Regions from separate parts of the Homo sapiens genome. Here regions 1, 2, 3, 4, 6 and 7 are each linked to region 5. The links are contacts of gene promoters, found by promoter capture Hi-C in blood cells and fetal thymus (Javierre and others, 2016). All regions are on one chromosome and are shown on one strand. The core of a region is centred on a gene start or on the middle of the fragment in contact, and the rest is flanking DNA. Distances in the headings are between cores, read along the strand shown.

Evidence for each region. The method cuts DNA at HindIII sites, captures the fragments that hold promoters and counts their contacts. A CHiCAGO score of 5 or more calls a contact.
Region 1: a contact is called between a fragment that was not itself captured here and the fragment with the promoter of HDDC3 in region 5, in 1 of 17 cell types (naive B cells). The highest score is 5.1, in naive B cells.
Region 2: a fragment that was not itself captured here is called in contact with the fragment with the promoter of HDDC3 in region 5 in 3 of 17 cell types (total CD4 T cells, fetal thymus and naive CD8 T cells); the score reaches 6.6 in total CD4 T cells.
Region 3: a fragment that was not itself captured here is called in contact with the fragment with the promoter of HDDC3 in region 5 in 1 of 17 cell types (naive B cells); the score reaches 5.8 in naive B cells.
Region 4: a contact is called between a fragment that was not itself captured here and the fragment with the promoter of HDDC3 in region 5, in 2 of 17 cell types (total CD4 T cells and fetal thymus). The highest score is 6.0, in total CD4 T cells.
Region 6: a contact is called between a fragment that was not itself captured here and the fragment with the promoter of HDDC3 in region 5, in 1 of 17 cell types (erythroblasts). The highest score is 5.2, in erythroblasts.
Region 7: a contact is called between a fragment that was not itself captured here and the fragment with the promoter of HDDC3 in region 5, in 7 of 17 cell types (total B cells, naive CD8 T cells, total CD4 T cells and 4 more). The highest score is 9.0, in total B cells.

What each region holds. Positions count from the first base shown.
Region 1 is chr15:90,344,860-90,348,416 of GRCh38, reverse strand. It overlaps the pseudogene GABARAPL3. Among named protein-coding and RNA genes, the nearest start is that of ZNF774, 5.6 kb to the left of the region's middle. The HindIII fragment of the contact is 2,574 bases long and covers 363-2,936 here.
Region 2 is chr15:90,267,729-90,271,437 of GRCh38, reverse strand. It overlaps NGRN (neugrin, neurite outgrowth associated), which reads right to left. Exons shown (of 3, transcript NM_001033088.3): 3 at 1-250. Among named protein-coding and RNA genes, the nearest start is that of NGRN, 3.9 kb to the right of the region's middle. The HindIII fragment of the contact is 6,495 bases long and covers 1-3,709 here.
Region 3 is chr15:90,362,703-90,366,326 of GRCh38, reverse strand. ZNF774 (zinc finger protein 774) reads right to left here. Exons shown (of 4, transcript NM_001004309.3): 4 at 3,480-3,624. Among named protein-coding and RNA genes, the nearest start is that of ZNF774, 12 kb to the right of the region's middle. RefSeq lists a silencer at 3,156-3,450. The HindIII fragment of the contact is 7,636 bases long and covers 1-3,624 here.
Region 4 is chr15:90,096,020-90,099,537 of GRCh38, reverse strand. All of the region lies in intron 1 of IDH2 (isocitrate dehydrogenase (NADP(+)) 2), which reads left to right. Among named protein-coding and RNA genes, the nearest start is that of IDH2-DT, 4.4 kb to the left of the region's middle. The HindIII fragment of the contact is 4,798 bases long and covers 1-3,518 here.
Region 5 is chr15:90,931,253-90,934,691 of GRCh38, reverse strand. HDDC3 (HD domain containing 3) reads left to right here and starts at 2,143. Exons shown (of 4, transcript NM_001286451.2): 1 at 2,143-2,263; 2 at 2,582-2,637; 3 at 2,748-2,988; 4 at 3,287-3,439. The coding sequence starts at 2,152. The coding sequence ends at 3,417. It also overlaps a transcript of UNC45A not described here. RefSeq lists enhancers at 222-321, 1,946-1,995, 2,746-2,975. The HindIII fragment of the contact is 1,585 bases long and covers 786-2,370 here.
Region 6 is chr15:90,144,284-90,148,121 of GRCh38, reverse strand. No RefSeq gene overlaps it. Among named protein-coding and RNA genes, the nearest start is that of IDH2, 44 kb to the right of the region's middle. The HindIII fragment of the contact is 7,167 bases long and covers 1-3,838 here.
Region 7 is chr15:90,323,980-90,327,653 of GRCh38, reverse strand. No RefSeq gene overlaps it. Among named protein-coding and RNA genes, the nearest start is that of ZNF774, 26 kb to the left of the region's middle. The HindIII fragment of the contact is 8,593 bases long and covers 1-3,674 here.

The DNA.
Region 1 (3,557 bases), core at 400-2,899, 590 kb after region 5:
AGGGGACTTGTGGTAGTGGGCCATACCTGGGGACGAAAAGAGACCCACTGTAATTGATGCATCGTGGCCCCCGATCTTCCGTATCCCACACTTCTTTTCTCCCATCCCAGTTGCAATCTCACTCACAAACATCACAGTACCACCCCAGGGGCGGCAGTAGACACCAACCCAGAAATTTAGACAGGGATCTCTTATCTTTGGAAAATAGGGGTTAGGCATGAGGGTGGTTATGATTAAGAAGATAATTTTGTTGTTAAATAGCATTAAACTGGAATTGACAGAGTGAGTTGAGCATCTCTGTCTAACCTGCTCTTTCTCTCTGGTGCTCCTCATCTCACCCCTACCTTGGAATTTAATAAGCTTCAGGCATTTCCAATTGCAGACTAAAACCACTTCTACCATCTCCTCTAGTATTTTCCATGTATCAGGACAGAGATGTCTTATGTAGGGAAGGGGCAGGTATGAAGTGAGGTAGATTATCTATACCTCTCACTCATTCAGGATTCTCGCTCCCATGCTGCTGTCCCTTCATTCTCACACTCACAGGAATGCTATGTGATGGCCAGCTGCTTCCCTTCTTGGTTATCCACTGCAGCTGCTAGTTAGAAAGGTTTGCAGGGATGACTTTTAGTAAATCATGGGGATTTTATTGATTTATTATCACTTATAGGATTTTGTGGGGTGGGAGTGGGGAGCAGGAATTGCACTCAGACATGACATTTCAATTCATCTCTGCAAATGAAAAGGGTTCTTCCTCTTGGGGGAAATCTGTGTGTCAGTTCTGTCAGCTGCAAGTTCTTGTGTAATGAAGTCAATGCTGTCAGGCCAAGTGAAGGGAAAAGAGAGATCAGACTGTTACTGTGTCTATGTAGAAAGGAAAGACATAAGAGACTCCATTTTGAAAAAGACCTGTACTTTAAACAATTGCTTTGCTGAGATGTTGTTAATTTGTAGCTTTGCCCCAGCCACTTTGACCCAACCACTGTGACCCAACTTGGAGCTCACAAAAACATGTGTTGTATAAAATCAAGGTTTAAGTGATCCAGGGCTGTGCAGGACGTGCCTTGTTAACAAAATGTTTACAAGCAGTATACTTGGTGAAAGTCATCGCCATTCTCTAGTCTCAATAAGCCATGGGCACAATGTACTGTGGAAAGCTGCAGGGACCTCTGCCCTTGAAAGCGGGGTATTGTCCAAGTTTTCTCCCCGTGTGATAGTCTGAAATATGGCCTCGTGGGATGAGAAAGACCTGACTGTCCCCCAGCCCGACACCCGTAAAGGGTCTGTGCTGAGGTGGATTAGTAAAAGAGGAAAGCCTCTTGCAGTTGAGATAGAGGAAGGCCACTGTCTCCTGTCTGCCCCTGGGAACTGAATGTCTCGGTATAAAACCCGATTGTACATTTGTTCAATTCTGAGATAGGAGAAAAACCGCCCTATGGTGGGAGGCGAGATATGTTTGCAGTAATGCTGCCTTGTTATTCTTTACTCCGCTGAGATGTTTGGGTGGAGAGAAACATAAATCTGGCTTACGTGCACGTCCAGTCATAGTACATTCCCTTGAACTTAATTATGACATAGATTCCTTTGCTCACATGTTTTTTGCTGACCTTCTCCTTATTATCACCCTGCTCTCCTACTACATTCCTTTTTGCTGAAATAATGAAAATAATAATCAATAAAAACTGAGGGAACTCAGAGGCCGGTGCCAGTGCAGGTCCTTGGTGTGTTGAGTGCCGGTCCCCTGGGCCCACTGTTGTTTCTCTATACTTTGTCTCTGTGTCTTATTTGTTTTCTCAGTCTCTTGTCCCACCCGACTAGAAATACCCACAGGTGTGGAGGGGCAGGCCACCCCTTCACCAAGGAAATGAAATAATTGCTTACCTTAAAAAACAAAACAAAACATTTGCCAGGTGCAGTGGCTTATGCCTGTAATCCCAGCACTTTGGGAAGCTGAGGCAGGAGGATTGCTTGAGCCCAGGAGTTCAAGACCAGCCTGGGCAACATGGCAAGGCCTCGTCTCTACTAAAAATAAAAAAATCAGCTGGGTTTGGTGATGCGTACGTGTAGTCTCAGCTACCTGGGAAGCTGAGGTAAGAGGATCACTTGAGCCTGGGGAGATTGAGGCTGCAGTGAGCCAGGATGGCACCACTGCACTCTGGCCTGGAAGACAGAGTGAAACCCTGTCTCAAAAAAAATTATTTTATTTCTGTTGATTAGGAATCTGGAACAGCCTAGGTGAGTATCTCTAATTGAAGGTCTCTCACAAGGTTGCAGTCTAGACACTGGCTGGGACTACAGTTATCTGTAGGATTGACTGGGGCTGGATGATCAGCTTGCTCCCAAGCTCCCTCATGTGACTGTTTCCTCACGTGTAGCTTCTCCTCACAACGTGTCAGCTGGCTTCCCCAGGGTGAGTGATTGAGAGAAAGAAGCAGAAGCTGCAATCTAACCTTGGAAGTGATAGACCATCATTTCTGCCATACTCCTTTGGTCACACAGACCAACCCTGGTACAGTGTGGGAGGGGACTACACAAAGGTATGAATACTTGGAGGCAAGGATCACAGTGAGTGTATTAGTCTGGGTTCTCCAGAGAGAAAGAATCAATAGGATATATAGATATAGAGAACCAGGGAAGCCAGTAGTGTGAGTCAGTTTAAGTTCAAAGGCCCAAGAACTTGAGGGGCTGCTGGTGCAAGTCCTGAAGTCTGAAGGCTGAAGAACCTGGAGTTCTGATGTCTAACATCAGGAGAAGGGTGTCCCAGCTCAGAAGAGAGAGAGAGAAAATTCGCCTTTCCTCTGCCCTTTTGCACTATCTGGGCCCTCAGCTGAGTGGATGCTACCATCCACCCTGGGTGAGGGCAGATCTTCCTTATCAGTCTACTGATTTAAATGCCAGTCTCTTCCAAACACACTTACAGGCATAACTATAAAGCTTTCTCAGCTATCTGGGTATTCCTTAATCTAGTCAAGTTGACACCTGAAACTTTTTTTTTAGAGACAGGGTCTCACTCTCTTACCCAGGCTTCCATGCAGTGGTGTGATCATAGTTCATTGCAGCCTCAAACTCCCAGGTTCAAGTGATCCTTCCACCTCAGCCTCCCAAGCAGCTAGGACTATAGGCATGTGCTACTGCACTTGGCTAATTTTAAAATTTTTTATAGAGAGGGGGTCTTGCTATGTTGCTGAGGCTGGTCTTGAACTCCTGGGCTCAAGTGAGCCCCCTGCCTCAGTCTCCCAAAGTGCTGGGATTACAGGCTTGAACCACCACACCCAGCTGACACCTAAAATTAACCATCATAGTGGGCCACCTTAGAGGCTGACTACCACAGGGACTACAGAGGACTTTAGGACATTGTCCTTGTGATGTACTCCATCATGCTCCTATGACAGCTCTTTAAGGAAACTTACAGTAAAGATCTCTATGTATGGGGAACTGGGGAGACGATCCCATTACTCAAACTAGGAGCCTTAGAGACTTCTGCAACCCTTCATGCTACATAGGATCAAAGTCTTGGGTACTACCTCTTACCTTCTTGCTACTCAATTCAGCTATGA
Region 2 (3,709 bases), core at 37-2,536, 660 kb after region 5:
CATAAGCAAAGAGCCTGATACAGAGTGGCCTGCAGGGAGCAGCTTTGAGGTATTTCCAGAGCCCCGGAGGTGCTGCAGCGAGTGGGCAAGCCCAGCTTTCTTAAGGACTTTTTGATCCTGCTTCAGCTTCTGCTCCAATGTGGGTAAAAACTTGCTTTTTAAAACTCTTCGGATCACATCAGTGCTGACATCAAAGCCTTCAGCCAACCTGGGAACTGACCAGGACTCTGGAAATTCCTCATGTAAATACCTACGGGAAGAAGGAGCAGGTTTGCAAGTTGTGAAGAAGTCTCCTATCAGAACATCTAACTCGCAATACCTATGATAAAGAAGAGGGGTTGAGGCCTGGCATGGTGGCTCACACCTGTAATCCCAGAACTCTGAGAGGCCGAGATAGGCGGATCACTTGAGCCCAGGAGTTCGAGACCAGTGATTCTTGTGCCTGAGCCTCCGAAGTAGCTGGGATTACAGGCATGAGCTACCACGTGGCACAAGAATCACTTGAACCTGGGAGGTGAAGGCTGCGGTGAGCCGAGATTGCACCACTGCACCACTGCACTCCAGCCTGGGCAACAGAGTGAGACTCTCCCAAAAAAACAAAAAAAGAGAGCTTGAAAAACCGCAAATGTAGTCCCTATCTTGTGCTAGCTAAATCTTGTGCTAGTCCCTATCTTGTGCTAGTTAAATGGCTGTGTTCCATTTCTGTGTGTCAACAGCAACACCTGACCACTGTCAGTCAGGTCACTTCATTTCACATCAACTCAGCTCCTCTCACTGACATCTAATACCACAATAGATCCTGGGGACGCAGGAGGACTGACCTTCCCATTACATAGTTTGGGAGTGGGGACAGACAAAATAAATGACATTATGGTAAAGGTTATAGCACAGGATGCAAAGACAGCACCCCAGGAGGGAGACCCAGATATAGGGAATAAGAACACTTATAGCCAGGCCCAGGAATTGCTTCATGAAGTCCAAGCTAGAGTTGGTCTGAAAGGATGAAAGGAGTAATAAGCTGGCAGAAGGGAGGAGAGAAGGAGAGATGAAAGATACTGATGATAAAGTGAAGAGCTTGTGAAATGTAAAGCGGCACATCACCTTTGTTGGGAATAACTCAACTGACAGTGAGGGTAAGAAGTAGATCACACTTAGGGGTCTGGAGTTTATCCCAAGGCAACAGCAAGTCAAGGAAAAATTTTAAGCAGTGGAATGCCACAGATAAATTTTCATTTTGAAGTTCAACCTACAGCCTGGCACAATGGCTCACTCCCAGCACTTTGAGAGGCTGAGGCAGGAGGATTGCTTGAGCCCAGGAGTTCGAGACCAGCCTGGGAAACAGGGAGATCCCATCTCTATTAAAAAAAGAAAAAAAGGAATTCAACCTAGTGGTAGTTTTTCAGTGACAAAAGTATAGGCAGAAAGATTGGTCAAGAGGCTTTTACAGTAATCCAGATAGTCTCGAGTGAGACAGTCAATGGAGCATAGGAGGAAAGTGAGTTGAGAAATATTTTAAGAAAGTCAAATAGTACAACTTGGTACTAAGGGACTAAATATTGGGGGAAGCATCATCAAGGCCAAGATGCAGGATTTTAGCTTGGGTAATCAGTAGGTTATAGGAAAAACAGGAACAGAATGAAGTTGTCAGGGAACAACGATGAATTCTATTTTGTACATGCTGAGTTTGAGGAAACTGTGATATCCAAAACAGAGATGTCTGGTACACAGTTGAATATATGCCTTTAGATTTCAGGAAAAAAAACATGAACTGGAGATGACAGATTTGGAAGTCATAAGCCAATAGCAGGGGTGACTGAGTGGCTAGCATCAGGCAGGGAAATATGCAGAGTGAACTAAAATGACAAGGACAGAACTCTATGAAATAACAATATTTAAGATATAGGAGGTAGAAGAGGAGCCCAGGAAGGAAACTGAGAAAAGCAGCCCTAGAAACAAAGAAAAAAAGATCAGAAGGGAATGGTACCCTGGAGTCAAGGGAGAAGAGAATTTTAAGAAAGCAGTTCACCATGGCACATGTACACCTATATAACAAACCTGCACATTCTGCACATGTACCCCAGAACTTAAAGTAAAATTAAAATAATAAAAATAAAAAAAGGCTGGGTATGGTGGCTCACGCCCGCCTGTAATCCCAGCACTTTTGGGAGGCTAAGGCAGGCAGATCACTTGAGGTCAGGAGTTCAAGACCAGCCTGGCCAACACGCTGAACCCAACCTCTACTAAAAATCCAAAAAAAAAAAAAAAAAAAAAAAAATTAGCCAGGTATAGTGGTGTGCACCTGTAATTCCATCTACTTGGAAGGCTGAGGCACGACAATCACTTGAACCCAGGAGGCAGAGGTTGCAGTGAGCCAAGATCATGCCACTGCACTCCAGCCTGGCAGCAGAATGAGACTCCGTCTCAAAAAAAAAAAAAAAAAAAAAAGAGAGAATCAGTGTCAATCAATAAATAAATAATGGGGGGGGGGGGGTGGGAGAAAGCAGTTTCAGCTGGGTGCAGTAGCTCACACCTGTAATCCTAACACTTTGGGAGGCCAAGGCAGGCAGATCGCTTGAGCTCAGAAACTGGAGACCAGGTTGGGCAACATGGCAAAATCCTGTCTTTATTTAAAATATATATATATATTTTAATTTAAAAGGCAGTTTTTACAAGGGCAAATGCTGCTGAATTATTTAGGACGCTAAGGACTACAAAGTGTCTTTTTGAGCCTAGCACTGAGGAAGTCACTGATGGATTTAAGGAGAGCAGTTTTATTGCAGTGATACAAACAAACAAAGGGTAGGCACCCTGGGAACCAGCTGGGAACAAAAGAATGAGAGAGAGCTTTAGGTTGAGGACAGAGGTCCTTGAGTAATCTTATGCAGGGAGAAATATGACCTAAAGCATACAGAGAATTGGTCCCAGACAAGTGAAGGGCTCCCATTTCCTCTGAAATGGGAGTAGAGTATAAGTTTGAGAGTAGTGGGCAAAGAGGAAGACCAGGAAGCTGAAAGTTTTTACTTAATGGACTGTTTTTTTTTTTTCCTCTTAAAAGGACATTTATTGACCACAATAAAGGGAGATAAGTAGGAAGGTGGAAGGTTTGAAAAAGCTATTGTTGAAGACAGGAGATAGAGGCCGGCATGGTGGCTCATGCCTGTAATCCCAGCACTTTGGGAGGCCGAGGTGGGTGGATCACCTGAGGTCAGGGGTTTGAGACCAGCCTGGCCAACATGGTGAAACTCTGTCTCTACTAAAAATACAAAAATTAGCCAGGTGTGGTGGTGCACGCCTGTAATCCCAGCTACTTGGGAGGCTGAGGTCCAAGAATCTCTTGAACCTGGAGGCAGAGGCTGCAGTGAGCTGAGATTTCGCCACTGCACTCTGGCCTGGGCGACAGAGTGAGACTGCCTCAAACAAAAAACAAACAAACAAACGAAAAAAAGAGGAGCTAGACCTGACTGAGGACTCAGAAGGTGCTACAGGCTCACAAAATCTTGAGCAGCTCTACAGAATCCCCTTTATTTTAAATTTCAATTCCAGAGTCATTCTGATGGAAATGAAAAATAGTACATAATCTATGTAGGGCTACTTAGCAATATTTATCAAATTGCAAATGCATTTGTCTTTTGACCTGGCAACCTTACTTCTGGGAATGTATATAACAAATATTCCTGGCAGGTATGCAGAATGATACACATACGTAGTT
Region 3 (3,624 bases), core at 366-2,865, 570 kb after region 5:
GGCATGTGCCTGTAGTCCTAGCTGTTACTCAGGAGGCTGAGACAGGAGGATTGCTTGAGTCTGGGAGGTTGAGGCTGCAGTGAGCCATGATCGCACCACTGCTCTCCAGCCTCAGCAAAAGAATGAGACCCCATCTCTAAAAAATAATAAACATATGTAAATGGCATCAAACAGTAAAGAGTTGTTGAATCAGAAGAAGACTAACAAGAGGCCTTCAGATGTGGAAATTAAGTCTTTTTTTTTTTTTAAGAGACAAGTTCTAGCTCTGTCACGCAATCTGGAGTACGGTGGTATGATCACAGCTCACTGCAGCCTTGAACTCCTGGGCTCAGGCAATCCGCAATCCTCCCACCTCAGCCTCCCAAGTACTTGGGATGACAGGCGCACATCACCATGCCTGGCTAATTTGTTGAAACTATTTTTTGTAGAGACAGGGTCTGGCTATGGTGCCCAGGCTGGTCTTGAACCTCTGGGCTCAAGCAGTCCTCTGGCTTCGGCCTCCCAAAATGCTGGCATTACAGGTGTGAGCCACCACACTCAGCCCTAAAAGACCTTTGAGGGTCCAGTTGTAGAAGCATGCTAGGGTAAGTGGCCCTATTAAAAAGGCCTAGGCATGATAACCCTGAGAATATCTACATGTGAGTGGAAGTTTGACAAAAGGGGAAGAGAAGGAATGCGATGATAGGGTCTAGGAGGAATTATTTCGAGGTAAAAGAAGGGTTAGGGATCTTATCTTTTTGTTGTGGTGCCTGCCCTGGTGCTTGGTGATAACGACTCGCTGGAGACCTACTGCGTGCTGGGCACTGTGCTAAGCCCTTTACATCATGGATTGTCTCAAAGCCTTTAGTTTTTTTCTCCGTAATATGACCTACACACAGCGGCCAAATTGACCTTCTCAAGTGCGGATCGCGCCTCTCCTCTCCTATAAAACCACTAGCTACACCCTTTTCTCCAGAGAGTAAGATCCAAACCCTTTAGTTTGGCAGCTAAGAACCTTCTTGGTGTGACCTTCACTCACCTGTCCAGTTTTGTCTCACTCTGCTGCTTTTCCAGCACAATGAGATCCTTGCCCATGAGCATGCACTCATTAATTCATCCAGTAAACACATATTGAGCACCTACCATGTGCCAGGCACTGTTCTAAGTGCTGTGGAAAGAATGGAAACAAGAGAAATGACTCCCACCTTTCGTGGAGTTTACCAAAAACAAATCAATTAATAAGAAATTGCCAGACAGGTGTAAGGACTTTGATGAAAAAAGAGGATAATGTGATGGAGGGTGACTAATTTAGATGGGATAGTTAGGGAAAGTCTTCCTAAGGAGATAGGTTTAGGCTGAAACCTGGTTGACAAATAGGAGGCAACACAAAGGACTGGGCGAGGAACATTCTGGGCAGAGGGAACAGTTAGTACCAAGGGTCTAAAGAGCACACAACCTTGGCATGACCAAGGAGCAGAGAACTCAAGAGTGCTGAGGTGAGGCAAGGGAGAGGGAAGGGGATATCACAAGAGGATGGAGGGGGAGGGGACAAAACCACAAGGGCCTCTTAGGCCTGGGTAAGGATTTGGGTCTTCATTCTAAAAGCAATGGAAAGCTGCTGAGAAGTGATGTGATTCGATTTAGGATTTTAAAAGTTCACTCTGGTTTCTGTGAGTGAAACCAGTTTTTTCAGAGCAAAAATCATATCAGGAAGATCAGTTTGGAGGCTGCTACAGGAATTCAGGTAAGAGACTGGTCATTTGGTACTGAAGGGTGGCAGTGAAGATGGACAGATTTGACAGATAGGTTCGAGAGGAATCTGGGAGGTAAAATTAATGGGGCTTGGTGATGACCTCAATTTTGGAGTGAGAAAGAACGGATGTGTGGAGCATGTTCAAGCAGTGAATCATCTAGTCATGAGGTAGAAACAAAAGAAAACTATAGAAAGGGTTACCTCCACTCTCAGCAATAGCATTGAAATATTCCCTGCTCATGGCTGGCGGGGGAGTGGGGGGGGGTGGGCAGGAAGACAGGGAGGAGGGAGGGGATTGGCAGGGCCACAAAGCAAATCTCACATTGCCCTTCGAGAGCTCACATTTTACCATAGCCAAACAACATGAAAATCAAAGTGATAGGTGGCCAGGTGAGGTGGCTCTCGCCTGTAATCCCAGCACTTTGGGAGGCCAAGGCAGGTGGATCACCTGAGGTCAGGAGGTCAAGACCCGCCTGGCCAACATGGTGAAACCCCGTCTCTACTTAACATATAAAATTAGCTGGGCATGGTGACATGCATCTGTAATCCCAGCTACTCCGGAGGCTGAGGCAGGAGAATCGCTTGAACCTGGGAGGCAGAGGTTGCAGTGAGCCAAGATCATGCCATTGCACTCCAGCATGGGCAACAGAGCAAGACTTCACCTAAAAAAAACAAAAAACAAAAAAACCCTCACATCTTACAATAGCTGAACAACATGAAAAACAAACAAAATGATAGGTGGCCAGGCACGGTGGCTCACACCTGTAATCCCAGCACTTTGGGAGGCTGAGGCAGGCAGATCACCTGAGGTGAGGAGTTCGAGACTAGGTGTGATCTCAGCTCACTGCAGCCTCCATTTCCTGGGTTCAAGTGATTCTCCTGCCTCAGCCTCCCAAATTGGTGGGATTACAGGCACATGCCACCACACCTGGATAATTTTTGTATTTTTAGTATAGGTGGGGTTTTGCCATGTTGGCCAGGCTGGTCTCAAACTCCTGACCTCAGGTGGTCCACCCGCCTCGGCCTCCTAGAGTGCTGGGATTACAGGTGTGAGCCACTGCACCCGGCCTGAATCTGCATTTCTAAAAAGTTCCCAGATAATGCTGATGCTACTGGACTGGGCTCACAGTTTGAGAACCACTGCACTGGATTAACTAAAAAAAATTTTCTGGTCAATTATCTAATGATGCTTTCAAAAACTGAGGTAAGGTTATCAGCTGAGTTCTATCCTTCATGAGCCACAGCACTCAGATGGCATTCCATATAATGGAAGAGAATGAAAGAAAAGAAACCTTTAATCCACCACTTTGCACTCTAAAAAGTGATAACTACCCAGCTCCCTCCTTAACCCCTTGCATTTGCGCTCACTCCTCCACCCCCATTCCACCAGGATCAAGGACCCCAGCACAGGTTCTTGCAAAGCTCCCTACAACTTAGACTACACCCTCCATCATTTCCAAATTCAGACTGGTTTAATGGATATAATATGGGTCCTCCAGTCCTGTAATGTCTCACAGGCACTGTAACAAATCCCAGAGCTGGTCTGTTGTTGCAGAGGAGGACTGCAGGCTGGAAATCTAGTGACTTGCAGCCAAATCTGGCTCTTCTGTTAACTACGTGGCCCATGATGAGTCATGTCATTTAGCATTTTTACGCCCTAATTTTTCAACAGTTTTTTTTTTTTTTAATCCCTCACTATGAGAGAAAAAGGAATACCTAAAGAAATATTAGCCAAAATTTTCTTGGAAAAAAGACATTAGCAACAGAATTATAACATAGAGATATTACATTTATAGTTAACCAACAAAGTGTGTGTGTGTGTGTGTGTGTGTGTGTGTGTGTGTGTATTTTTAGATCCTCACAACAACCTTGTGAGGTAGGTAAAACTTGAG
Region 4 (3,518 bases), core at 535-3,034, 830 kb after region 5:
TACAATTGTGCCACTGCACTCTAGCCTGGGTGACAAAGCAAGACCCTGCCTCCCCCTTCTCCCCCCAAAAAGAGAAGAGCTAAGGAGAAACAGGCAAGAAAGGTGTGTGCACAAAAGTTTGTATAGGGCAGCCAGAAAAGTCCTCACTGAAGGAATCGCTGAGGAGGGGAGGAAGCAGGCCATTTTCGGTATTGGGGGAAGAGGGACTCGCAGGTGCCAAGGGCATGATGGAAGAGCAGAGAGGATGGTGCGAAGGCTGGCTCAGCAGGCACCAGGTGGAGTGACAGGATGAGGTTCGGCAGTGGGGTCTGTAGAGGGCTCACAGGCCATTTTTGAGAGCTTTCGCTTTTACTTTGCAGGGTTTTGAGAGGAGTATCGTTACCTGATTTCCATCTTATCGGGAGCATTCTAGCTTCAGGGACCTGGCAAGAGAGGATGATGGCTTGGACCTGGGTGGTGGCGCTGGGGATGGTGAAGAAGTGGTTGGATTCTGGATATATTTTGAAGGAGGAGCCAGTAGTGGGGAAAGGTTCCAATTCAGGCGATTTTACATAAAAATCTAGATACGCAGCAGGCACTCACTTATGGCAAGGGTGGGCTTGTCTGAGGGTGGCTTCTGGTTTTGGTGGTTTGGATGTGAGAGAAGGGAAGGAATGAAGGATGACACCAAGGAGTCTACTAGAGTTTGTTCCAAAATGGCTGTTCTGGCCGCGTGCGGTGGCTCCCAGGACTTTGGGAGGCCGAAGCAGGCGGATCAGTTGGGGCCAGGAGTTCGAGACCTGCCTGGCCACCATGGTGAAACCCGGTCTCTACTAAAAATACAAAAATTAGCTGGGTGTGGTGGCAGGCGCCTGTAGTCCCAGCTACTCAGGGGCTGAGGCAGGAGAATTGCCTGAACCCAGGAGGTGGAGCTTGCAGTGAGCCGAGATCACGCCACTGCCCTCCAGTGTAGGCGACAGAGTGAGACTCTGTCTCAATACATACATACATACATACATACATACATGCATGCATACATACATACATACATACATAAAATATACAAAGTTGCTGTCCTGCCTTCTTGAGCCCCCAGGAATTGGAACCTTTCCCCACTCTCTGATCTTTTGCTGGGACATGCTGACTGAGCAGCCTTTCTGCTGAGAGCATGGGTAGGAATGTGGAGGGAGCAGTTATGCCTGGGGCTGGCTGCCTGCGGCTGGACCTCTAGCCTCCTGCTGGGAGCAGCAAGAAGCCAGGGATGTGTTTTGAAATCCTTACTTGGTATTGGGTGCTAGGAGCCCCAGACAGGGAGGAGAGTCAGCCTAACGTGCCTCTGGTGACTGGTGTAATTCCATCCTGCACTCTCGCCAAGAGGACAGTGTTTGTGCAATGCATCAGCTGAAGATTCGTGGTGGCTGTCACTTCGGAGGTTTTCAGGGAGGCCTAGCTGCTGCTCTGTGTATTTCAGGTAGCTTGTCACCACTTATCTCTCAGAGAAGGGCAGACCATGGCTGTATCTCCACCATACAGGCTGAACAGCAGACAGGGGTCTCAAACTCCAGTGCCCTGGGCCACACTGGAGGGCACTTGGCTGTCATGGAGTGAAGGGAGAGGCCGCCTTCAGCCCAGCCCATCCTTGCCATGAGTGAGTGCCTGCTGCATTTCTAGATTTTTATATAAAATCTCCTGATTTTTTTTGACTGGTTTAAATTTTTATTATTTTGGTAAAAAACGTATAAAACTTACCATCTTAGTCATTGTTCAGTGTACAGTATTGTTAAGTACATTCGCACTGTTGTGCAGACATTACCACCATCCATCACCAGAACTTTGTCACCTTGCAAAACCGAAACTCTCTACCCATGAAACAATACCTCCCCACTTCCCGTCCCCAGTCCCTGGCAGCCACCTTTTTACTTTCTGTTTCTATGAATTTGACTATTCTAGGTACCTCATGTAAGTAGAAGCATATAGTATTTGTCTTTTGTGACTGGTTTATTTCACTTAGTTAGCATAATGCCCCCCAGGTTCATCCACTTTGTAGCAGGTGTCAGAATTTCCCTTCTTTTCAAGGCTGAATCATATTCCATTGTATGTAGATAACAGTAGTCCCCCTTATCCTTGGAGGATGCATTTCAAGATCCCCAGTGGATACCTGAAACTGCAAAGCCTGTAGATACTATGTTTTTTTCCTATACATACAGATCTATGATAAAGTTTAATTTATGAATTAGGAACAGTAAGAGATTAGCAATAATAACTAGTAATAAAATAGAACAATTATAACAATATACTGTAATGAAAGTTACATGAATGTGATCTCTTAAAATATCTTACTGTACTGTACTCACCTATTTTCAGACTATGGTTGACTGTGGGTAACTGACACCACAGGTAACTGACGTCATGGAAATAAAACCTTTGATAAGGGGGGACTGTATCACATTGTCTTTATCCATTCATCTGTGATGGACACGTGGGTTGCTTCTATCTTTTGCTGTTGTGAACATTGCTGCTATGAATGTGGGCATACATATATCTCTTTCAGACCCCGCTTTCGATATTTTTGGATGTATATACAGAAGCAGAATTGCTGGATCATATAGTAATTCTTGTCCTTTTCTTTTCTTTTTTTTTTTCGAGACGGAGTCTTGCTCTCTTTCGCCCATGCTGGAGTGCAGTGGCGCGATCTCAGCTCACTGCAAGCTCCGCCTCCCGGGTTCATGCCATTCTCCTGCCTCAGCCTCCCCAGTAGCTGGGACTACAGGCGCCTGCCACCACGCCTGGCTAATTTTTTGTATTTTTAGTAGAGTCAGGGTTTCACTGTGTTAGCCAGGATGGTCTCGATCTTCTGACCTCGTGATCCACCCGCCTCAGCCTTCCACAGTGCTGGGATTACAGGTGCGAGCCACCGTGCCCGGCAGTAATTCTTTTCCTTTTAGCTAAGGAACACCCATACTGTTTTCCACAGCAGCTGCACCATTTCACATTCCCACCAACAGGGCACAAGAGTTCCAATTTCTCCACATCCTTGCTAGCACTTTATTTTCTGTTTTGTTTTTCTTTTCCTGATAGTAGCTCTCTTAGTGGTTGTGAGGGGATAGTGGGGTGATATCTCATTATGGTTTTGATTTGCATTTCCCTGATGATTAGTGATGTTGAGCATCTTTTCATGTGCTTGTTGGCCATTTGTATATCATCTTTGGACTTGAAATGTCTATTTAAGTCTTTTGTCCATTATATTTATTTATTTATTTTGAGATGGAGTCTTCCTGTTACCCAGGCTGGAGTGCAGTGGCATGATCTCTGCTCACTGCAACCTCCACCTCCTGGGTTCAAGCAATTCTCCTGCCTCAGCCTCCCAAATAGCTGGGACTACAGGTGTGTGTCACCACACCAGGCTAATTTTTTTTCTATTTTTAGTAGACACAGAGTTTCACCATTGTGGCCAGGCTGGTCTCGAACTCCTGACCTCAAGTGATCTGCCCTCTTCAGCCTTCCAAAGTGCTGGGATTACAGGCATGAGCCACGGTGCC
Region 5 (3,439 bases), core at 894-3,393:
TGATCTACATGATTTTCTGTTGCGGTCTGTCCCTTCACTAGTCTGTAAGTTACAAGCCTACCACCCCATAATTTAGGAACAGAGCCCCAGATACTGGAACACCCTGTCGATGTTCCAGTGGCTCTGGGGTTGGAGATCTCACCTGAGGATGGGCGGGGGCGGAAGAGCGGACAGATTGACTTGGTACAGGGCCTCAAATTCAGCCCGGGTGCAGCAGGAGCCCCCTGCAGCCTGCAGGTGGCAGCAGTAGGCTTCCTCTGGAGAATCAGACAGACGAGGGCAAAAGAAACCAGGGTAGTGACGGCCATGGACATCCCGGGTGGTCTGGCACAAGTGAGGGTGGTGGACCAGAGCTGAAGAGAGAGGTGGGGGTGCTAGAGACAAGCAGGAGGGGCCTTTCCACAGCTCACTCCACCCCTACTGGAGAGTAAAAGAGATCAGCCCCTACCAGAAGAAAAGATGCCCTTCCACCCATCCCCATCAGTTCCAGTTCCCAGGAATAGCCCATAGCACCAGAGGCAGGTGGGCCACAGGGGTAAGTGCTGTACCTGAGAGAGAGGTTGGCTGGACAAGGGTCACCCAGCTGAAGAGCAGCAGTAGCCCCACAGATAGGCCTGTCAGCAAGGGGCCTGACCTTCTCTGGATGCCCATGAGAGTTCACTACCACCTCTGTCCTGGTCCTGGGAACCCCAACATCTCTCTTTCTAGGCCGTGACTGCAGACAATAAGGAAATAAAAGTCAAAGCCCCAAGGCCCTTGGGCACCATTAATACGAGCCTGAAGCTTCTCTATCACAGGCTTTTAGAGAGAGATGACAGGGACTGGGTTTCTGTCTCCTGTTGGAAAACGTGGGGCCTGCATTGCCAAACTGCTGAAGGAGAGAAGGCTCAAAGGACTAGAGGACAGAATGAGGGATGAGAGAGCAGCTGAGCCATTAGTATGAAGAACAAACAAGCATTTACAGCCAAATATGTTTCTACCCATTCTCCAACTTCCAGGCTGCCATGGAAGCTCTGGGAATTCTGACCCTCCTATTTCAGGTCCCAGAGACCTCAGTTCCAGCATGTGGGGCTTCCCTCCCTAACCTCTGCTACGTGGCAACCACCAAGACTAGCTGAAAACCAAGGGTGACTCCTTTCATTAGCCTTTCCCCTGAGCCTTATCTGCCCCAGCTACCAGCCAGAACACAAAAGCTACATGTCTGATTAGAGTATACTTAGCTAATAGGGAACCCCCTCTCACAGAGAAGTTCTATGGGGATCACCAGGTCTCTCTTACCCCTCAGCTGCCCCTAAGGCAGGGAATTTCTCCAGAAGGCCACCAGCCAGCAGAATTAAGTGTTATTCCAGTGCCTACCCAGGCCTGACAACATCATGCTCCCAGGACAGCAGTGACAACACTCATCACCCCAGGGGCCCACAGAAGATGCCTAGAGACTGAAATAGGAGCTCTCATAGCATAAGAAGACAAGGCAAATTTCATCTGCAACACTGAGGACAAACAAAGGCAGTTCCTGCAGAAACGTCACAGCTACCTGGGAGCCTAAGTCTGAAGCAATTAGGCAGGGCTCCCAGGGAAGGCTCTGATTTTTCAGGTCAGGCCCTAGGGTCTCCTGGAGGGTCCAAAGGTAGACTCCCCTGCCCACAGAACCTGGCCCATCCCTACAGGGAGAACTATTTTTAGAACACTTGGAGAATTTTCAGAGCTTTTACAGGTTGAAGATGGTTCTTGGGGGGAGCTTCTGGGAGAAGCTGTCTCTGACTCTGAGGGTGTGGGGATTGTTCTTTCTTCCCGCTCCCATAGTCCCCTGAGCCTTGGCCACCCTGGATTCAGAGCACTGTGAGGCCACTGCCTTATTTCTTGTCTGTCTTCCTCTTTTCCACAGACTGTGGGCTCCCAAAGAGCCAGGCTTATGTTCTTCTTGCACCCCCAACAGAGCACACTGAGCTGGGGGCTGCGATGCTGAAGGCAGCTGTCCACATCACTTGCTCTCTGCGCGGGCCGGTCAGCTCCAGAGGAATTCATCTGGGGCAGGCCCAACTCGGCCCGCTGAATTAGCCTCCACGATCCCCGGGCCTCCCCGGCGCCAGGGGGCGCTGTAAACGTTCCGTCCCTGCCCCTGCGGCCGCAGTCGTCGGCCCCATCCGCGCGATGGGCTCTGAGGCGGCGCAGCTGCTGGAGGCTGCCGACTTCGCGGCTCGCAAGCACCGGCAGCAGCGGCGGAAGGACCCCGAGGGGACCCCCTACATCAACCACCCCATCGGTGGGCGCGTCGGCCGCGGAGCGCCGGCTGCGGCACCTGGGTGGTGGGGACTGGGAAGGAAACGTGGGGGGCGTGCACCTCATTGAGCACCTGTTTTGTCCCAAGCTTAGTGCGATATACCGTTTAAGCCTCATAACAATTGGAACGGTAGGCATGATCGTTCCCTTTGTCGGTTGGCTCCCAGAGGGTAAGGTACTTGACCAAGGTCACCCAGCTAGTCAGAGTCCACAAGGGGCCACATCTGGCTCTCCAAAACCCACAACACACCGCCTTGGGACTACCTCCGACCTGACTTCCTGCTTTGCCCCTCCCCGTCAGGTGTGGCACGGATCCTGACCCACGAGGCGGGAATCACTGACATTGTGGTGTTACAGGTAACTTTCCCCCTTCTCTGCCAGGAGCCTGGGATGGGGATTAGGGGCCCCATTCAGCAATGGGCAACCCTTGGCTGACATCTCAGGGCTGAGTGGGAACTTGTCCCCAGGCGGCCCTGCTCCATGACACGGTGGAGGACACAGACACCACCCTGGATGAGGTGGAGCTACACTTTGGGGCACAAGTGCGGCGCCTGGTGGAGGAGGTAACAGATGACAAGACTCTGCCCAAGCTGGAGAGAAAGAGGCTGCAGGTGGAGCAAGCGCCCCACAGTAGCCCCGGGGCCAAACTGGTGAAGCTGGCAGACAAGCTGTACAATCTGAGGGACCTGAATCGCTGCACCCCAGAGGGTACGCTTTCGTATGGGCTGTAAGGGAAAAGGGAGGGGGATGCCGCCTTCTGAAGACACATGTTGGTCAGTTCCCCTGAAAAACCCTGGGCATTCTTAATTCCCAAATTAATCCTACTGGACCACTCTTTGATCTTCTTTCATACAGTAAAAATACAATAGCTGGGCCAAGGGGAAGTTTTCAGGACAGCTCATTCCATCAGGAACTCATGGCCTTGAACCAAGCTTGCCAGGAAGTGGGGAAAAGGCAGTGCTTTCCTTGACATCACGCTAGCAAGTTTCTGTCGACTCTTATGCAGGATGGTCAGAACATCGAGTCCAGGAATACTTCGAGTGGGCAGCGCAGGTGGTGAAGGGGCTTCAGGGAACAAACCGGCAACTGGAAGAGGCTCTAAAGCATCTGTTCAAGCAGCGGGGGCTGACAATCTGATCAGTGCTTGAAGCTATCCAGA
Region 6 (3,838 bases), core at 1,122-3,621, 790 kb after region 5:
TTGTGACCAGCCTGGACAACATGGTGAGACCCTGTCTCTACAAAAAAAAAAAAAAAAATTTAAAAATTAGCCTGGTGTGGTGGCATGTGCCTGTAGTCTCAGCTACTCGGGAGGCTGAGGAAGGAGGACTGCTTGAGTTTAGAAGGTCAAAGCTGCAGTGAGCCATGATTGTGCCACTGCACTCCAGCCAGGGTGACAGAGTGAGACCCTGTCTCAAAAAAACAAAACAAACAAAAAAACCCTGAAATGTGATGTATGCATAAATTCACATCGGATTTTGAAGACTTCATACAAAAAAGGCCAGGTGCAATAGCTCATACCTGTAATCCCAGCACTTTGGGAGGCTGAGGTGGGTGGATTGTTTGAGTCCAGGAGTTTGAGACCAGCCTGGGCAACATCGTGAAACCCCATCTTTACAAAAAATACAAAACATTATCAGGGCCTGGTGGTACGCGCCTATAGTCCCAACTACTCGGGAGGCTGAGGTGGAAGGATCACCTGAGCCTAGGGGAGGTCAAGGATGTAGTGAGTTGTGATCGTGCCACACTCCAGTCTAGGCAACAGAGTGAGACCCTGTCTCAAAAAAAAGTAAAATAACTCCCTAATTATTGATTATATTGGGTTACATAGAATATATTGTAATACATAGAATATATTATTTGTTTGTTTGTTTTTGAGATGGAGTCTCACTCTGTTGCCCAGGCTGGAGTGTAGTGGCACCATCTCGGCTCACTGCAACCTCCACCTCCAGGCTGGAGTGTAGTGGCACCATCTCGGCTCACTGCAACCTCCACCTCCAGGCTTCAACCGGTTCTTCTGCCTCAGCCTCCTGAGTAGCTGGGATTACAGGCGTATGCCATCACGCCTGGCTAATTTTTGTATTTTTGGTAGAGACGGGCTTTCCCCATATTGGCCAGGCTGGTCTTGAACTTCTGACCTCAAGTGATCTGCCTGCCTCAGCCTCCCAAACTGCTGGGAGGACAGGAGTGAGCCACCACACTCAGTCTAAATAGAATATATTATTACAATTAATTTCACCAGTGGGTTTTTTGTTTTTACTTTTAAAAATGCAGCTACTAGAGTTTTTAAAACTACGCTCTTTTCTGCCATGGTGAAAAGTAAATTAATAAATTAAAAAACAACTACTAGGCCAGGCGCAGTGGCTCACGCCTGTAATCCTAGCACTTTGGGAGGCCGAGGCGGGCGGATCACCTGAGGTCTGGAGTTTGAGACCAGCCTGACCAACATGGAGAAACCCCATCTCCACTAAAAATACAAAATTAGCCGGGCATGGTGGCACATGCCTGTAATCCCAGCTACTCGGGAGGCTGAGGCAGGAGAGTCACTTGAACCCGGGAGGCGGAGGTTGCGGTGAGCCAAGATCACACTATTGCACTCCAGCCTGGGCAACAAGAGTGAAACTCCATCTCAAAAAAAACCCAAAAACAAACATTAACAACAACAACAAAACTACCTATGTGGCTTGCATTATGTGTTTATTGGACAGCAGCTGCTTAGAACAAGCCTGGTGTGGAGTAAGTCAGTGTAATTGTTAGCTGCTGTCAGTGTTCAGTGCCTGACACGTGGTAAGGGCTTATTGAAGAGCAGTTTTTTGGTTTTTGTTTTGTTTTGAAATGGAGTCTAGTTCTTTCACCCAGGCTGGAGTGCGGTGGTGCGATCTCAGCTCACTGCAACCTCCGCCTCCCAGGTTCAAGTGATTCTCATGCCTCAGCCTCCTGAGTAGCTGGGATTACAGGTGCTCCCCACCATGCCTGGCTAATTTTTGTATTTTTAGTAGAGACCGGGTTTCACCATGTTGGCCAGGCTGGTCTCAAACTACTGAACTCAGGCAATCTGCCTGCCTTAAACTCCCAAAGTGCTAGGATTATGAGCATGAGCAACCATGCCTGGCCTGTTTTTTTTTTTTTTCTTTTTTTGTGACAGGGTCTCACTTTGTCGTCCAGGCTGAATGAGTGTAGTGGTGTGATGTCAGCTCACTGCAGCCTAGATGTTCTGGGCTCACACAGTCCTCTCACCTCAGCCTTCTGAATAGCTCTGACTATAGGCATACACCACCATGTCCTGCTAAGTTTTCTACTTTTTTAGAGACGGGGTCTTGCTATGTTGCCCAGGCTGGTCGCAAACTCCTAGGCTCAAGCGATCCTCCTGCCTCAACTTCCCAAAGTGTTGGGATTACAGGTGGAGAGCCACTGTGCCTGGCCTTGAATGGCAGTTTTGAAGACTTCTCTCCATCCCCTCTCTTGCCTCTCTGCCTTGGCAATCCAACCTGGAAAGCATTGTCTGTTTCCTTCCCAGCTTGTCCTATTCACCGGCAGTGAGAGCCCTGTCTTTCCTTTGATCCTCCCAACTCCCAGTGCCTCTCCAGGGGTGCTGAGCCCCCCAGTGGATTTCCATGCTGGTGGGACTTTCTGGGTGTCCAGTTTCCCATCACCTCCCCTCTCCCACCAGCTCTGGGCCCGAGTACCTCTGCGTTCCCCCGGAGTCCACCCACCTGGGGTGTTGTGATCACTCTTTGCCATCGTCACTCTCGGGTTTTCTCCTTAGGCCCTGCTCTTCTGAGGCTTGATCTGTGATGCCGGGAGAGGTGGGACGCTGCCAGAAGGGGCTACTGGCAGGCTGCCAAGAGGCTGCCCACAGAGGCCTTTGCCCTGACAAATTCACCCCTGGGGCCCTGGGTCTGCCCTCCGCCTGGCAGCTGGTGGAGAGGAGAGCCAGGTCCCAGCTGTGGACTCAGACTAATCAATTGCTCAGGAGGCCAATATATACACCAGGTGGTAAGTTTCCAATGCATTTAGCAGGGTGAGACCGGTTTTTGTTTAGGAAAATATCTTGATAGCCACTTTTGTTGAGGAAGGGGAGGTGCTAAGGACATAGTTGAAGGAAGATGTTTAAACACAGGAGGAATCAAACGGCTTTACAGAGAACGTTAACCGGAACTTGGGGGCGAGGGACCCCAAAAGAGAAGAAGAAATGGAAAGATGGTCATAGAAATGAAGGGTGAAGGAGGGAGGAGGGAGGGAGAAAACAAAATGGCAAGGGCAGAGCCTGGGAGGTATGTGTCCACTGAGAATTTCACAGTGGCGGGGAGACCAAAGGGCTTTTTTTTTTTTTTTGAGACTCTTGTTGCCCAGGCTGGAGTGCAATGGCGTGATCTCAGCTCACTGCAACCTCCGCCTCTGGGTTCAAGTGATTCTCCTACCTCAGCCTCCCGAGTAGCTCGGATTACGGGCATGTGCTGCCACACCCAGCTAATTTTGTATTTTTAGTAAGATGGAGTTTCTCGATGTTGGTCATGTTGGTCTTGAACTCCCAACCTCAGGTGATCCGCCCGCCTCAGCCTCCCAAAGTGTTGGGATCACAGGAGTGAGCCACTGCACCCAGCCTCGAAGGACTTTTTTTTTTTCTTTTCTTTTTTTTTTTTTGGTGATGGAGTCTTGCTCTGTGGCCCAGGCTGGAGTACAGTGGTGCGATCTCAGCTCACTACAGCTTCTGCCTCCCAGGTTCAAGCAATTCTCCTGCCTCAGCCTCCTGAGTAGCTGGGACTACGGGCGCATGCCACCACCCCCGGCTAATTCTTTAATTTTTAGTAAAGACGGGGTTTCACCATGTTGGCCAGGCTGGTCTCGAACTCTTGTCCTTGTGATCTGCCTGTCTTGGCCTCCCAAAGTGTTGGGATTACAGGCATGAGCCACCATGCCAGACCTCAAAGGACTTTTAAGAACAGGATCTGTACTATTCTTTTTGAAATGGTTTGTTTTCCTACTAAGTACACCCCAGTACACCCCTCTATTGCCCAAGCCTTCAGTAAAAGCTGTAG
Region 7 (3,674 bases), core at 897-3,396, 610 kb after region 5:
TCAGCCTCCAATGATTTTATTTTTTTAATTTTTTATAAAATTTTGGCAAAATACACAAAACATAAAATTTACCAGCTTAACTGTTTTGAAGTATACAGTTCAGTAAGTACATTCATAATGTTGCACAACCATCACCACCACACATCTGCAGAACTCTTTTCATCTTGTAAAACTGAAACTCTATACCCATTAAGCAATAACTCCCCACTTTCCCCTGTCCCCAGCCCCCGGCAATTATCGTCATATTTTCTGTCTCTATAATGTTTTTATTTTTTATTCTTTTGAAACAGGGTCTCGCTCTGTTGCTCAGGCTGGAATACAATGGTGTGATCATAGCTCACTGCAGCCTTGACCTCCCAGGTTCAAGTTATCCTCCCACCTCAGTTTCTGGAATACCTGGGATTACAAGCGTGTGCCACCATGCCTGACTATTTTATTTTATTTTATTCTATTTTATTTTATTTTTGGAGAGAGAGGGTCTCACTATGTTGCTCAGGCTAGCGTCAAACTGCTGGGCTCAAGCAATCCTCCCACCTCGGCCTCCCAAAGTGCTGGGATTACAGGTGTGAGCCACTATGCCTGGCCTCTAAGATTTTAACTACTCTAAGTACCTCATATAAGCTGACTCGTACAGTATTTGTCTTTGTCTGACTGGCTTATTTCACTTATAATGTTCTCAGATTTCACCTGTCTCAAAAAATAAAATAAAATAATATTGATTGAGACTTAATTTGTAGCCTGACCTACCAACACCTGCCTCACGCACAGCACGCCCATCTAGATTTCAATTGTAGTTGCTATGCGTATGGTGGCTCAGTTCAGCTGGGCTCAATTCCTGGTGCTGATTGTAATGCTACTTTGGGAAGCTAAGGAAGGGGGATTGCTTGAACCCAGGAGTCAAGGCTGTAGTGAGCCATGATTGTGCCACTGCACTCCAGCCTGGGTGACAGAGCAAGACCTTGTTTCAAAAAAAAAAAAAAAGGAAGAAATGATTACAACCATCGATTAGTCATTAGTGCCATGCCTTAGCTGAGAACTTCTTCTCTGGGCCATTCTGCAGCCCTCTGGAATGGCTTTAGGACCTGGCTACCAGGCTCCCCTTATCCCAGTGTCTTGCTCTCATCCTCAGTGGCTTCAGCATACTTATTTATTTTATTATTTTTTTTGGTGGGGGGACGGAGTTTCGCTATTGTCGCCCAGGCTGGAGTCCAATGGCACGATCTCAGCTTGCTGCAACCTCCGTGTCCCGGGTTCAAGTGATTCTCCTGCCTCAGCCCCCTGAGTAGTTGGGATTATAGGTGCCCGCCACACACCCAGCTAATTTTTTGTATTTTTAGTAGAGATGGGGTTTCACCACGTTGGCCAGGCTGGTCTAGAACTCCTGACCTCAAGTGATCCACCTGCCGTGGCCTCCTGAAGTGCTGGGATTACAGGTGTGAGCCACCGTGCCCGGCCTCATCCTTATTAATTACAGCACCACCACCTGTGCTCATGGTCCCTTTACCTCCTCTGCTCCAGTAACCTCGAAAGGCCAGCCACATCACAGAGCTGCTTCCATTTCAGCCTCTCAACTCCATCTCTCCTTTTCCCTTAGAATAACTGGGGCTGCCCATTATCCTTGCCACAGCCTCCTCTGCTTCCTTGCTTATTGTTCCTTTTCTACCTCCTCCCTCAGTCTGGACTCCACGGTCGGCTCTTCAACCATGTTCCTGCTAGTGGCTTACGGTTCCTGTTCTCCAACTTTCTAATCTACCTACTGTGTCATCCCCAAGCAGGGGATTCCCTGCCATCTACTTCTGCAACTCTCAGGCTGGCAGAAGTGGCCTCCATGCTGCCCAGTCAGAAGGGCCTGTGTGGCCAACACAGCTGCCGCCCCAGTTCCATCCTTCATTCTCTTTCCTTCCAGTTGTCCAGGCCTTGCCATCTGACTGGCCTGGAGAGTAGGGAAGAGATGGGGAAAACAAAGGAGGGGTGCAAACATCTGGAGCTCAGTGCCCTGGTCTGCTCAGCCTGGGGGAGATTCTCCTCCCTCCTCTTCCTCCCCTGCTCTGTTCCTTCACCTTCTTCCGCCTTGAGGACTCCCTGATTCCCTTATATATCCATGAAAACTTTTACATCACTAAATAAATTGCCTTTTTTTTTTTAAATGAAGTCTCTCTCTGTTGCCCAGGCTGAAGGGCAGTGGCATGATCTCGGCTCACTGCAACCTCCGCCTCTTGGGTTCAAGTGATTCTCCCACCTCAACCTCCCGAGTAGCTGGGATTACAGGCGTGCGCTACCATGCCTGGTTGACTTTTTTTTTTTTTTTTTTTTTTTGGATTTTTAGTAGAAACAGGGTTTTACCATGTTGGCCAGTCTGGTCTCAAACTCTTGACCTCAAGAGATCTGCCCACCTGGGCCTCCCAAAGTGCTGGGATTACAGGTGTGAGCCACCATGCCCCAGTGAAATTGCTTAATTTCACAAACATTTTGAGAGTCAACTGGGAACTGTCAACCTAGAAGGAAGCTGAAGCAAAATTAATATAAGTAGAGAATTTATCTGGGGCTGGGCATAGTGGTACACTCCTGTAATCGAGGATTCTGGGAGGCTGAGTTGGGAGGATTGCTTGCCAGGAGTTTGAGAACAGCCTGGGCAGCATAGTGAAACCCCATCTGTACAAAAAATTTAAAAATTAGCCAGGCATGGTGGCTCATGTCTGTAGTCCCAGCTACTCAGGAGGCTGAAGCAGGAGGATTGCTTGAGCCCAGGAGTTCGAGGTTATGGTGAGCTAAGATCCTGCCACTGCACTCCAGTCTGGGCAACAGGAGCAAGACCTTTTCTCTTAAAAAAAAATAAATAACAATAGTAAGACAGAGGATCTATTTGGGCCAAGCTAGATATTGCAAACTGGGAGCATAGAGTCAAGTTACCCTCAGTATACATCCTGATTAGCAGCAGTTGTGAGGCAGGAGGCAGGCCTGTACTCCAGGCCAGATTGAAGACTAGCTGAAACAGGGAAGAGGGGAAAGCACCTCTCCATAACACATGCCCACCAGTGCCATGTCAGTTTACCAGTGCCCTGGCAACACCCAGAAGTTACTGCCCCTTTCCATGGCAACAACCTGGGAGTTATACCCTTTTCCTAGAAATTTCTGAAAAACCCATCCCTTAATTTGCATGTAATTAAAAGTGGGTATAAATATGACTGTGGAACTGCCCCTTAGCTGCTACTCTCCACACACTGACTATGGGCTAGCTCTTCCTGCAGGAGCAGTTACAGAGCGGTAACACTGCTGCCTCAATAAAACTGGTTTTGGTGGCGGGGCGTGGTGGCTCACACCTGTAATCCCAGCACTTTGGGAGGCCGAGGTGGGTGAATCACCTGAGGTCAGGAGTTCAAGACAAGCCTGACCAACATGGTGAAAATACAAAATACAAAAATTACTAAATTATTATTATTACTAAAAATAATAGCCTCCCAAGTAGCTGGGATTACAGGCATGCACCACCACCCCCTGCTAATTTTGTCTTTTTAGTAGAGACGGGGATTTCACCATGTTGTCACCTTGGTCTCGAACTCCTGACCTCAAGTTGTCCACCTCACCTTGGCCTCCCAGAGTGCTAGGATTATAGGCGTGAGCCACCGCGCACAGTCAAGAAACCTCTTTTCTACAAATAAATAAATAAAAAATTA